3 separate regions of the Homo sapiens genome follow, and all the other regions are linked to region 1. Evidence: promoter capture Hi-C in human tissues and cell types (Jung and others, 2019). All regions are on one chromosome and are shown on one strand. Each heading gives the region's core, a stretch centred on a gene start or on the middle of the fragment in contact. The rest is flanking DNA. Distances are from core to core; before and after follow the strand shown. Region 1 holds the start of ZNF778 (zinc finger protein 778). Region 2 holds the start of FANCA (FA complementation group A). Region 3 holds the start of TCF25 (TCF25 ribosome quality control complex subunit).

What was found. Contacts are between HindIII fragments. The study calls those that stand out against the background at their distance.
Region 2: the fragment with the promoter of FANCA here is called in contact with the fragment with the promoter of ZNF778 in region 1 in 2 of the 25 tissues and cell types used here (lymphoblastoid cells and mesendoderm cells).
Region 3: the fragment with the promoter of TCF25 here is called in contact with the fragment with the promoter of ZNF778 in region 1 in 1 of the 25 tissues and cell types used here (mesendoderm cells).

Annotation. Positions count from the first base shown.
Region 1 is chr16:89,216,399-89,219,258 of GRCh38, forward strand. ZNF778 (zinc finger protein 778) reads left to right here and starts at 1,305. Exons shown (of 7, transcript NM_001201407.2): 1 at 1,305-1,512. It overlaps ZNF778-DT (ZNF778 divergent transcript), which reads right to left and starts at 1,255. Exons shown (of 1, transcript NR_186410.1): 1 at 1-1,255. RefSeq lists enhancers at 1-137, 1,087-1,136, 1,661-2,191, 2,192-2,721. The HindIII fragment of the contact is 6,098 bases long and covers 733-2,860 here.
Region 2 is chr16:89,815,271-89,818,100 of GRCh38, forward strand. It overlaps FANCA (FA complementation group A), which reads right to left and starts at 1,377. Exons shown (of 43, transcript NM_000135.4): 1 at 1,267-1,377; 2 at 607-716. The coding sequence starts at 1,345. RefSeq lists silencers at 881-930, 1,161-1,450 and enhancers at 1,311-1,605, 1,991-2,040. The HindIII fragment of the contact is 15,845 bases long and covers 1-2,830 here.
Region 3 is chr16:89,871,849-89,874,877 of GRCh38, forward strand. TCF25 (TCF25 ribosome quality control complex subunit) reads left to right here and starts at 1,744. Exons shown (of 18, transcript NM_014972.3): 1 at 1,744-2,011. The coding sequence starts at 1,820. LOC112268179 (a long non-coding RNA gene) reads right to left here and starts at 1,640. Exons shown (of 2, transcript XR_002957933.2): 1 at 1,120-1,640; 2 at 1-73. RefSeq lists enhancers at 502-1,458, 1,229-1,388 and silencers at 1,469-1,588, 2,059-2,528. The HindIII fragment of the contact is 23,130 bases long and covers 1-3,029 here.

The DNA of each region.
Region 1 (2,860 bases), core at 55-2,554:
ACTGCAAGCCGTTGCTGCCCTTCAGAGCTTTGTGACTCAGACACCTGTCAGGCTGCTGAGAAACGTGATCTAGTCACGTCAGCCCTCCCCCTGTCTGATCTCCTTCTTCTCTGGGAGTTCTCTGCGCGCCCCCCGCCCACGCTCATTTTTTTCTCTTTTCTGAGTAGTGACCCCCAATTCGAAGCCTGTGGGTAATCTCATGGTGCGTGAGACTCCCTCACCCTCCAACCTGTCAAAGCTTGTGCGCCACCGCCACCTCCTGGGCACATCTTGTTTCTTAATCAGCCACGAAATCACGTGAACACTTCACATGTGGTTTTGTTTTGTTTTTCACATTTAGACTCCTGATCCGTTTGGAGTTTATCCCTGTGAGATCCAGAATTAATTTCATCATTTCTCAGACGGCTAACCATTTGTCTTAGCACCTTTCATTATAAACTGCATGTTTGTTCCACCGCTCTGAAATTATGTTTATGAACCAAATTTCCATGTTACTGGGTTGATGTCTGGATATTCCATTTGTTTCCTGTTCATGTGTCACTAGCACACAGTTTTAATGACAGAGGCTGTTTTCGCATCTGTCGGGCATTGCGCTTTTGTTTGTCCGCGTCGTCTGCGTTATGAGACATTTGTTCCTCCATGTGAACTCCAGGATCAATATGCCTGGTTCCAAAAAAAAAACCTTTTCGTATTGTTACTGGAATCATGTGACATTTCTGAATGAACCTTGGGAGAACCCCTGGTATCAGTGCTATTTTGCAACGTAGTATAGGTGGTCTTGGCTCCTACGGTACATTAGAAAAGTAACAGAAACGCATATTTGAAGCGAAAAATAGATGAACATTTACAGAAAAAAAAAATACCACATTGAAAATGCAGTGGAATCAACTGTTAAAAGTTCGGCGTGATGTTCAGACAGATAAAAAGGAACGGGGCCAGTGACTCCCTGCAGAGATCGAGAGAAGACCGAGCACTCCCAGCACCCGCGGGCTTCTCGCTGTGACCGAACCGCGGGCCGCGCTCGCGACGAGCACTTCCTGGCTGTACCCGCCCAACCGCGCCCTCCTGGTCTGTTCCGGCTCCGCAGTTGCGTCCAGAGGCCTGATCCTTACGTCCGCCTGGTCCTCCGGGCCTGTCTCTGCCTCCAGCCCGGTTCCCAAGGGCGCCCCGGGGCCCTCCCGCACCCTCGCGGAAGAAACTACTACCTCCCCGCACCATAGGCCAAAGCTTCGGCCCGGAGGCTGGAGGCGGAAGTGACGCCAAAGACGCGCCGGCCCCTCTTCCGGCGCCGGCCCCGCCTCCGCCTGTCTTACAGCTGATCCGGTTCTTGCGGCGGTGCGTGCTGGCGCCGGAGAGTTCCGCGCGTGTCCTCGGGCTGTCCGCGGGGAAGCTGGTCCGGGAGTGGGCGCCCGCCCGCCTGCCTCGCGCCTTGCGCCCCCGGCACCGCTTCCAGAAGGGAAAGTCGCCGCCGCTCGCGGTAGACCCGGGCAGCGCTTCCATTCCGCGGAGCTGGTGAGAGAGGGGCCCTTTGCTTCCTTCACTTTGAACAGGGCGTGTTTCTGTGAGAATCTGGCTTCGGCTTTGACGTTTTTTATTTGTTTCTGGCACATTGTGTTGGGACCGAAGCGTAAGGTAGACCCCTGAGCGCCCCGGGCGTGCAGCTCCCTGTGAAAGTTAGCCCGTGGGGGCCAGCGGGAGCGCGCGTCCCTCGCCGCCGGGACTTCCAGGCCCGGCCCTCGGGGCGGGAGGGATGCGGCCGTTGTCCCGCTGGTCTTGGAGTAATCGAATCCACGGTGAACAGTGTGTTTCGACTAACTGTATTTTTTCTCACGTTTTGCTTTAGAAAATCTGAATCTAATAAAAATGTGAACATCTGCTACAAGGAATATCCACTGCAATCGTTTTACTCCTTTTTAGCTTTGGGCCATGTTTTCTCTCTCCCCCAATAAATAAACCTTACGGTGAATTATTATTTGAGTGTAAGTAAGTTGAAATTAAACTGCACACATGATACTTAACCTTTAAATACTTGGTAAAGCGTCTGTTAAGGGTAAGGACATTATCCTACTGAAACCACAATATTAGTATTTCATCTAAGAAAATTAAAATTAGGCCGGGCGCGGTGGCTCACGCCTGTAATCCCAGCACTTTGGGAGGCCGAGGCGGGTGGATCACGAGGTCAGGAGACCGACACCATCCTGGCTAACACGGTGAAACCCCATCTCTACTAAAAATACAAAAAATTAGCCGGGCGTGGTGGCGGGCTCCTGTAGTCCCAGCTACTCTGGAGGCTGAGGCAGGAGAATGGCGTGAACCCGGGAGGCGGAGCTTGCAGTGAGCCGAGATGGCGCCACTGCACTCCAGCCTGGGCGACAGAGCGAGACTCCGTCTCAAAAAATAATAATAATAATTAAAAATAATAAGGTCCGCTGGGCACAGTGGCTCACGCCTGTAATCCTAGCACTTTGGGAGGCCGAGGCGGGTGGATCATCTGAGGTCGGGAGTTCAAGACCAGCCTGACTAACATGGAGAAATCCCGTCTCTACTAAAAGTACAAAATTAGCCTTGCATGGTGGCGCATGCCTGTAATCCCAGCTAGTCGGGAGGCTGAGGCAGGAGAATCGCTTGAACCTGGGTGGCACAGGTTGCGGTGAGCCAAGATCGTGCCATTGCACTCCAGCCTGGGCGACAGAGCAAGACTCCGTCTCAAAAAAATAAAAAAATAAAAAAATAAGAAGGAGGTCATCCACTGTCTACTTTGTGTAATATCTAGGATTCTCAACATTTTTCCAACATTGCGCTGTTGGGTATTTTGGGGACTAAGAGCCCTTCAAGGTTTATCTGTTCCCATCGTTTATGT
Region 2 (2,830 bases), core at 127-2,626, 600 kb after region 1:
AAGTGATCTACCCACTTCGGCCTCCCAAAGGGCTAGGATTACAGGCGTGAGCCACCACGCCCGGCTTTTTTTTTTTTTTTTTTTTTTTTTTTTTTTGTGAGACAGTCTCACTCTGTAATCCAGACTGGATTGCAAGGGGCGTGATCTCGGCTCACTGCAATTTCTGCCTCCCGGGTCCAGGTTCAAGCAATTCTCCTGCCTCAGGCTCCCGAGTAGCTGGGATTAAAGGCGTGCGCCACCACACCCAGCTAATTTTTGTATTTTCAGTAGAGACCGGGTTTCACTATGTTGGCCAGGCTGGTCTCGAACTCCTGACCCTGAGTGATCCACCCGCCTTGGCCTCCCCAAAAGCTGGGATTACAGCCCTGAGCCACGGCGCCCGGCCTGTTTTTTTGTTGTTGTTGTTTTGTTTTTAATAAAAGAGGCGGGGTCTCACCCCGTTGCCCAGGTTGGTCCAGAACTCCCGGGCTCAGGCGACCCTCCCCTCTGCGGGCCAGGCCACCGCGCCCGCCGCCTCGGGTGTTTTCTTAGGAAAGCTGTGCGGTGGCTGGACTCAAAAACCCCGAACCTAAATCTGCCCGCAGACGGACACCAGCTTCCTCTTACCTCAAGCAAAAGGGCATTCAGGTCCTGATGGCTTCGCAGGAGGCGCACAGCTGATTCCTTTAATTTCTGTGCCCTTTCAGGATTATATTTTTCCCTCTTGACCCTTCCCGCTACGGAGAGAAGTCGGTTCGAAACCATCACAGCACAATTCACACACGGGGTCCCCGGCCCGACGCGCAGGTGGACGCCGCGGAGAAACCCACCAGCGACACCCTCCCGAAGAGGGGCCGGGGCTCCTCCCCAGGGCGCAGGTCTCGGGAAACTAACGGAGACGGCCCCACCGCGGACGCCGGGGAAGACGGCCCAGGAGGGCCCGAGGCAGGGGAGCCCGGGGACGGCTGGCGAGGGGCGGCCTCTGCGCTGAGGGGAGCCCCAGGCCGCGCACCCCAGGCCCGCCTGACAGGGCGGCCGGCGGGGGCGGCGTTCGGGAAAGAAGGGAGCGCCCCGCGGGCGGCGGCTGGGGGCGTCCGCCCAGGCGCAGGAGGGGCCGGGTCCGAGGCAGCCGCGCCGCCCCAGCCGGGCGCCCACCCCGCACAGCCCCCCGGGCGCGGCGTCCGGGGATCCGACCGGCGGAGGCTCTGGCGGGAAGGGATCGGGGAACCGGCGAAACCGTCCCGGGCCGGACGCCGCCCACTCCCGCGGCCTGCCGCGCCCACCTACCCAGCAGCTCGGCCCAGGCCCTCCGGCGGCCCCCTGGGTCCTGGCCCGAGGCGGAGTTCGGGACCCACGAGTCGGACATGGCCTTGGCGCCTACAGCCCCGGCGGCGGCTCCCTGCGCCCGAGCCCGCGCTGCCTTCCTATTGGCTGCGGCCAGGCGCGCACACCCGTTGGCTGGCGGCGGCCAGGCCACGCCCCTCAGGTCGAGGCCTTGCGTCGTGGCCATGTTGGTCCTGGGGGAGGCGCCTGCGCGCGGTGAGGTAGTTTTTGCGTTTGGCTTTGCCGCCGCGGTGTAGTCCGCGGGGGCGTCTCGCGCGGGCAGACTGCCGCCCCTCAAGCGTGGTTCCTGCCGGGAATGACTGGGGTTGGTCCTGAAGAGACCACCTGGCCAACCAAGCCGAGGCAGGCTCAGAGCGCCGCGGGGAGCGCAAAGCCGCGCGCGCCTCTGAGCTCCGGGCAGCCGCTGTTCCTCCCGGCGGCCGAACGGTCCGCGCGCAGGGCGGTGTTTCGGCAGCCGGAGACCGCGCGGTAGCCGCGCCTGTATTCCCAGCGCTTTGGGAGGCCGAGGCTGGAGGGTCGCTTGAGCCCAGGAATTCCAGACTAGCCTGGGCAACAGAGCGAGACCCCATCACTTTTGTTTCTTTTCTTTTTTTTTTTTTTCCTTTTTTTGAGACGGAGTCTCCCTCTGTCGCCCAGGCTGGAGTGCAGTGGCGCGATCTCGGCTCACTGCAACGTCTGCCTCCTGGGTTCAGGTGATTCTCCTGCCTCAGCCTCCCGAGTAGCTGGGATTGCAGGTGCGCGCCACCACGCCTGGATGATTTTTGTTATTTTTAGTAGAGACAGCGTTTCGCCATGTTGGCCCAGGCTAGTCTCGAACTCCGGACCTCAGGTGATCCGCCCGCCTCGGCCTCCCAAAGTGCTGGGATTACAGGCGTGAGCCACCGCACCCGGCTGAGACCCTATCTTTTAACCAGCCTGGGCGGCAGAGCGAGACTCTGTCTCAAAACAAAACCAAACATAAGAATTCGTAAAAGCGAGTGCCTAGGCGAAGCTAATGTGCCTCAAAGTCCTGGGTAAGTAGAGGCCCTGGAGACCCGTCCGCATCCTCTGGCAGTGGCCTTGGAACCACCGAAGGGATTCAGCCGAAGGGCCGCGTTCCCGGCAGGCGTCTTTATTGTGTTGATTACGTAGATGGCGTAGATGACGTAGATGACGTTCAGCACCACAAACGAAGAGCCGAGGCACAGAGTGGGGCCTTGGATTCATGAGATGGGGATGGAGCAGAAATGAGAATTCGGAGTCCATGAAACCCCCACAAAGACTCCTGCACGGCCCGACTCGGACACTTTGCAATCTGCTGGTTGAGGGGGATGGTGTGAACTCAGGGAACAGCCTGAGATCGCGCCGCTGCACTCCAGCCTGGGCAACAGAGCAAGACCCTGTTTCAAAAACAAAAAATAACACTAAGCAATTAACAGGACTAGACTCAGAGGTGATCGAGAAATTGAAACAGGCTGGAAATTTAAATTAACTGTGATTAATATGTGGAGGTCTCTTGTACGAAAGG
Region 3 (3,029 bases), core at 494-2,993, 660 kb after region 1:
ACTTTGACTCCAGGCTGTAATGCTAGCCGTGGGGCCTGGAGGTCAGAAGGGACAGGACTTGTAACTGATGGGCCTGCGGGAGAAAATACTCCTGTCAGCTGGGGTCCAGGAAATCCAAACACACAAAATTAGAGCCCCCAGTAAAAACAGCCAGCTTCTAGCATGCGTGTAAGCATTTCACGGACTCTCTGGCCTGTATTTTTATTCCTGTTTAAAAATAAGAAAACAGGCACAGAGAGGGTCAGGGAACTCCTCCGGTCACACAGCCAGCAATAAGCTAATGTGTAGTGCTTGGTAAGGACGACGGTTGTTCTGGTTCTACGGGGACTCACACTCCCTATCATGGGGAGACTGGGTTGTAATTCATACAGGAACACTTGGAAATGAAAGCCCACGTTAAAACCCTAAACCACGGCAGGTGCAGTGGCTCACACCTGTAATCCCAGCACTTTTGGAGGGTGAGGTGGGCAGATCACTTGAGGTCAGGAGTTCGAGACCAGCCTGGCCAACATGGTGAAACCCCATCTCTACTGAGTACAAAAATTAGCCGGGCATGGTGGCACATGCCTGTAGTCCCAGCTACTCGGGAGGCTGAGACAGGAGAAGTGCTTGAGCCTGGGAGATGGAGGTTGCAGTGAGCCGAGATTGCGCCACTGCACTCCAGCCTGGGCAACAGAGCAAGACCTCATCTCACAAAATAAAATAAAACCCTAACCCATCCTGGGAGGGGCCAGGCCGGCTCACCAGGGCTGCTGCTTGTGCTCATGAAGCCGCAGTAAGTCGGGCAGGAGGCTGCTGGCACCTGTCTTCTCTATGCCCTCCTGTCCCCATGTCCCCAACCCCAGGCACAGGAAGCTGTGCCCTCCGCCCACTGAACCCAGCACTGTCTCAGCCTCATCTACTTTATTTTTTTCATTTTTTTGAGACAGGGTCTGGCTCTGTCGCCCAGGCTGGAGTGCAGTGGCGCGATCTCGGCTCACTGCAGCCTCAGCCTCCCGAGTAGCTGGGATTACAGGCGTGCGCAGCCACGCCCAGCTAATTTTTGTATTTTTAGTAGAGGGAGTTTCACCGTGTTGCCCAACCTGGTCTCGAATTCCCGACCTCAGGTGATTCGCCCACCTTGGCCTCCCAAAGTGCTGGGATTACAAGCGTGAGCACCGCGCCCGGCCCTTAGATCGTGACAAACGCGGGCGGCCTGTCCTAGAACTGTCAGAACCACTGTCCCTAAAGAGGCCTCGGGCGGGCAGTAAGGGCCGCGTCACTCAATGCTGCTCGAGGGGCGGCGGCTCCAGGGCAGAGGCGGGCATCGACGGCTAGATCACTCGAATGACACCCTGACACGAAAAGGACCAACTAGCAACGTCCGGGACGCAGCTGAAATGCTGCAGGCACGGTGCGGGGACAGGCCCCGGCGGGCAGAACGCGGCTGCGGGTTCCGGGCCACATGGATGGGCAAGGCCGGGCAGGGCCGACTGTCGCCGGCTGCGCGCCCGTTACCCCGAATCGAAGCCCGTCATCCCCGCGGGGCACCTCTCCATGCCCGGTGCGCACGGCGCGCAGACACCCAGCTCTCCAGAGACCTGGCCCGGACCCCCCGGAGCCCGCCCAGACGCCGCCGCTGAAGCGGGAAAGTTCCGGAGAGCCGCGACGCGCAGGCGCCGCAGCCAGGTCCTGCCCCCACCCCTCGCGCCAAGAGTGCGCAGGCGCGCAGCCAGCTCCCCCGCCCCCGACCCCGCGCGAAGAGTGCGCAGGCGCGCCGACAGCCGAGTTTTCTGCGCTTCCTTCTCCCTCTCTCCAGACGTCGTGGTCGTTCGGTCCTATGTCGCGCCGGGCCCTCCGGAGGCTGAGGGGGGAACAGCGCGGCCAGGAGCCCCTCGGGCCCGGCGCCTTGCATTTCGATCTCCGTGATGACGATGACGCGGAAGAAGAAGGGCCCAAGCGGGAGCTTGGTGTCCGGCGTCCCGGGGGCGCAGGGAAGGAGGGCGTCCGAGTCAACAACCGCTTCGAGCTGGTGAGGAGCGCGGCGGCCCGGGTGGGGGTGGGGTGGCCCTTGACGTTGTGGGGCGGGGCGAGCGTCCAGCCGGGTCGGGGAGCGGGGTTGTGATGCCAGGGGTGGGAAGGGTGACGTGGGTCCCAGCCGCAGTGGGGAGGGCGGGGCCGTGCGTCGGGGCCAGGGCGACGCGGGTGGGCGGTGGCGTGGGGTGAAGACGGCGGGCCGCGGAGTTAGACTGGGTTCTAACCCCGGTGAGGTGGGCGGGGCTAAGGGATGGGGCGGGGCCGTGCTGTCGGGGCGGGGCGACCGAATGGGCGGGGTTAAGCGGGGTCCGGGTTGTGGAGGGTGCGGGGCCTTGATGCCAAGGGCGTGGCCAACGTCCGCGGGGCCGGGCCACGACGTGGGCGGGATTAAATGGGCCTGCGGCCACGTGGCTGTCGTGGGGCCGTGACGCTAAAGGGCGTGGCTAAAGACGGGGGGGTGGCGAGGCGATGGCGTGGGCGGGGTTAAATGAGGCCTGGGGCCACCGTGGGGGTGGGGCCACGGCGTAGGGGCAGGAGTCGGGTGGGGCTTCCCTTTCTCGAGTCTAGAGGGGCCTTCTCTCGGTTCCAGGGTTGAGGACTTGCCAGGCCTCTGCGAGCATTCTGCTTTAATCCTCACAACAACTCTGCCTAACCCAGGGCCTTGCTCTTCGCGCATCCCCATCAGCCTAACCCAGCGGATTAGTCTTACTCTTTGCTGCATCTCCGGCAGCTCGTTTCTGGCACAGGGAAGTAACAGTTTGACTGTATGGTTTGCTCATGCGGTCCTGTGACGTTTTCTCCTAAGCCCTGGCCTCCGTCTGTAACTCTGCCTCTGCGGGCTCTGCGATCCTCCCACCTCAGCCTCCTGAGTATCTAGGACTACAGGTGGATGTCACCACGCCCGGCTAATTTTTTTTTTTTTTCTTTTTTGTAGAGAAGAGTTTTCGCCTTGTTGCCCAGGCTGGTCTAGAACTTCTGCGCTCAAACAATCTGTCCACCTCAGCCTCACAAAG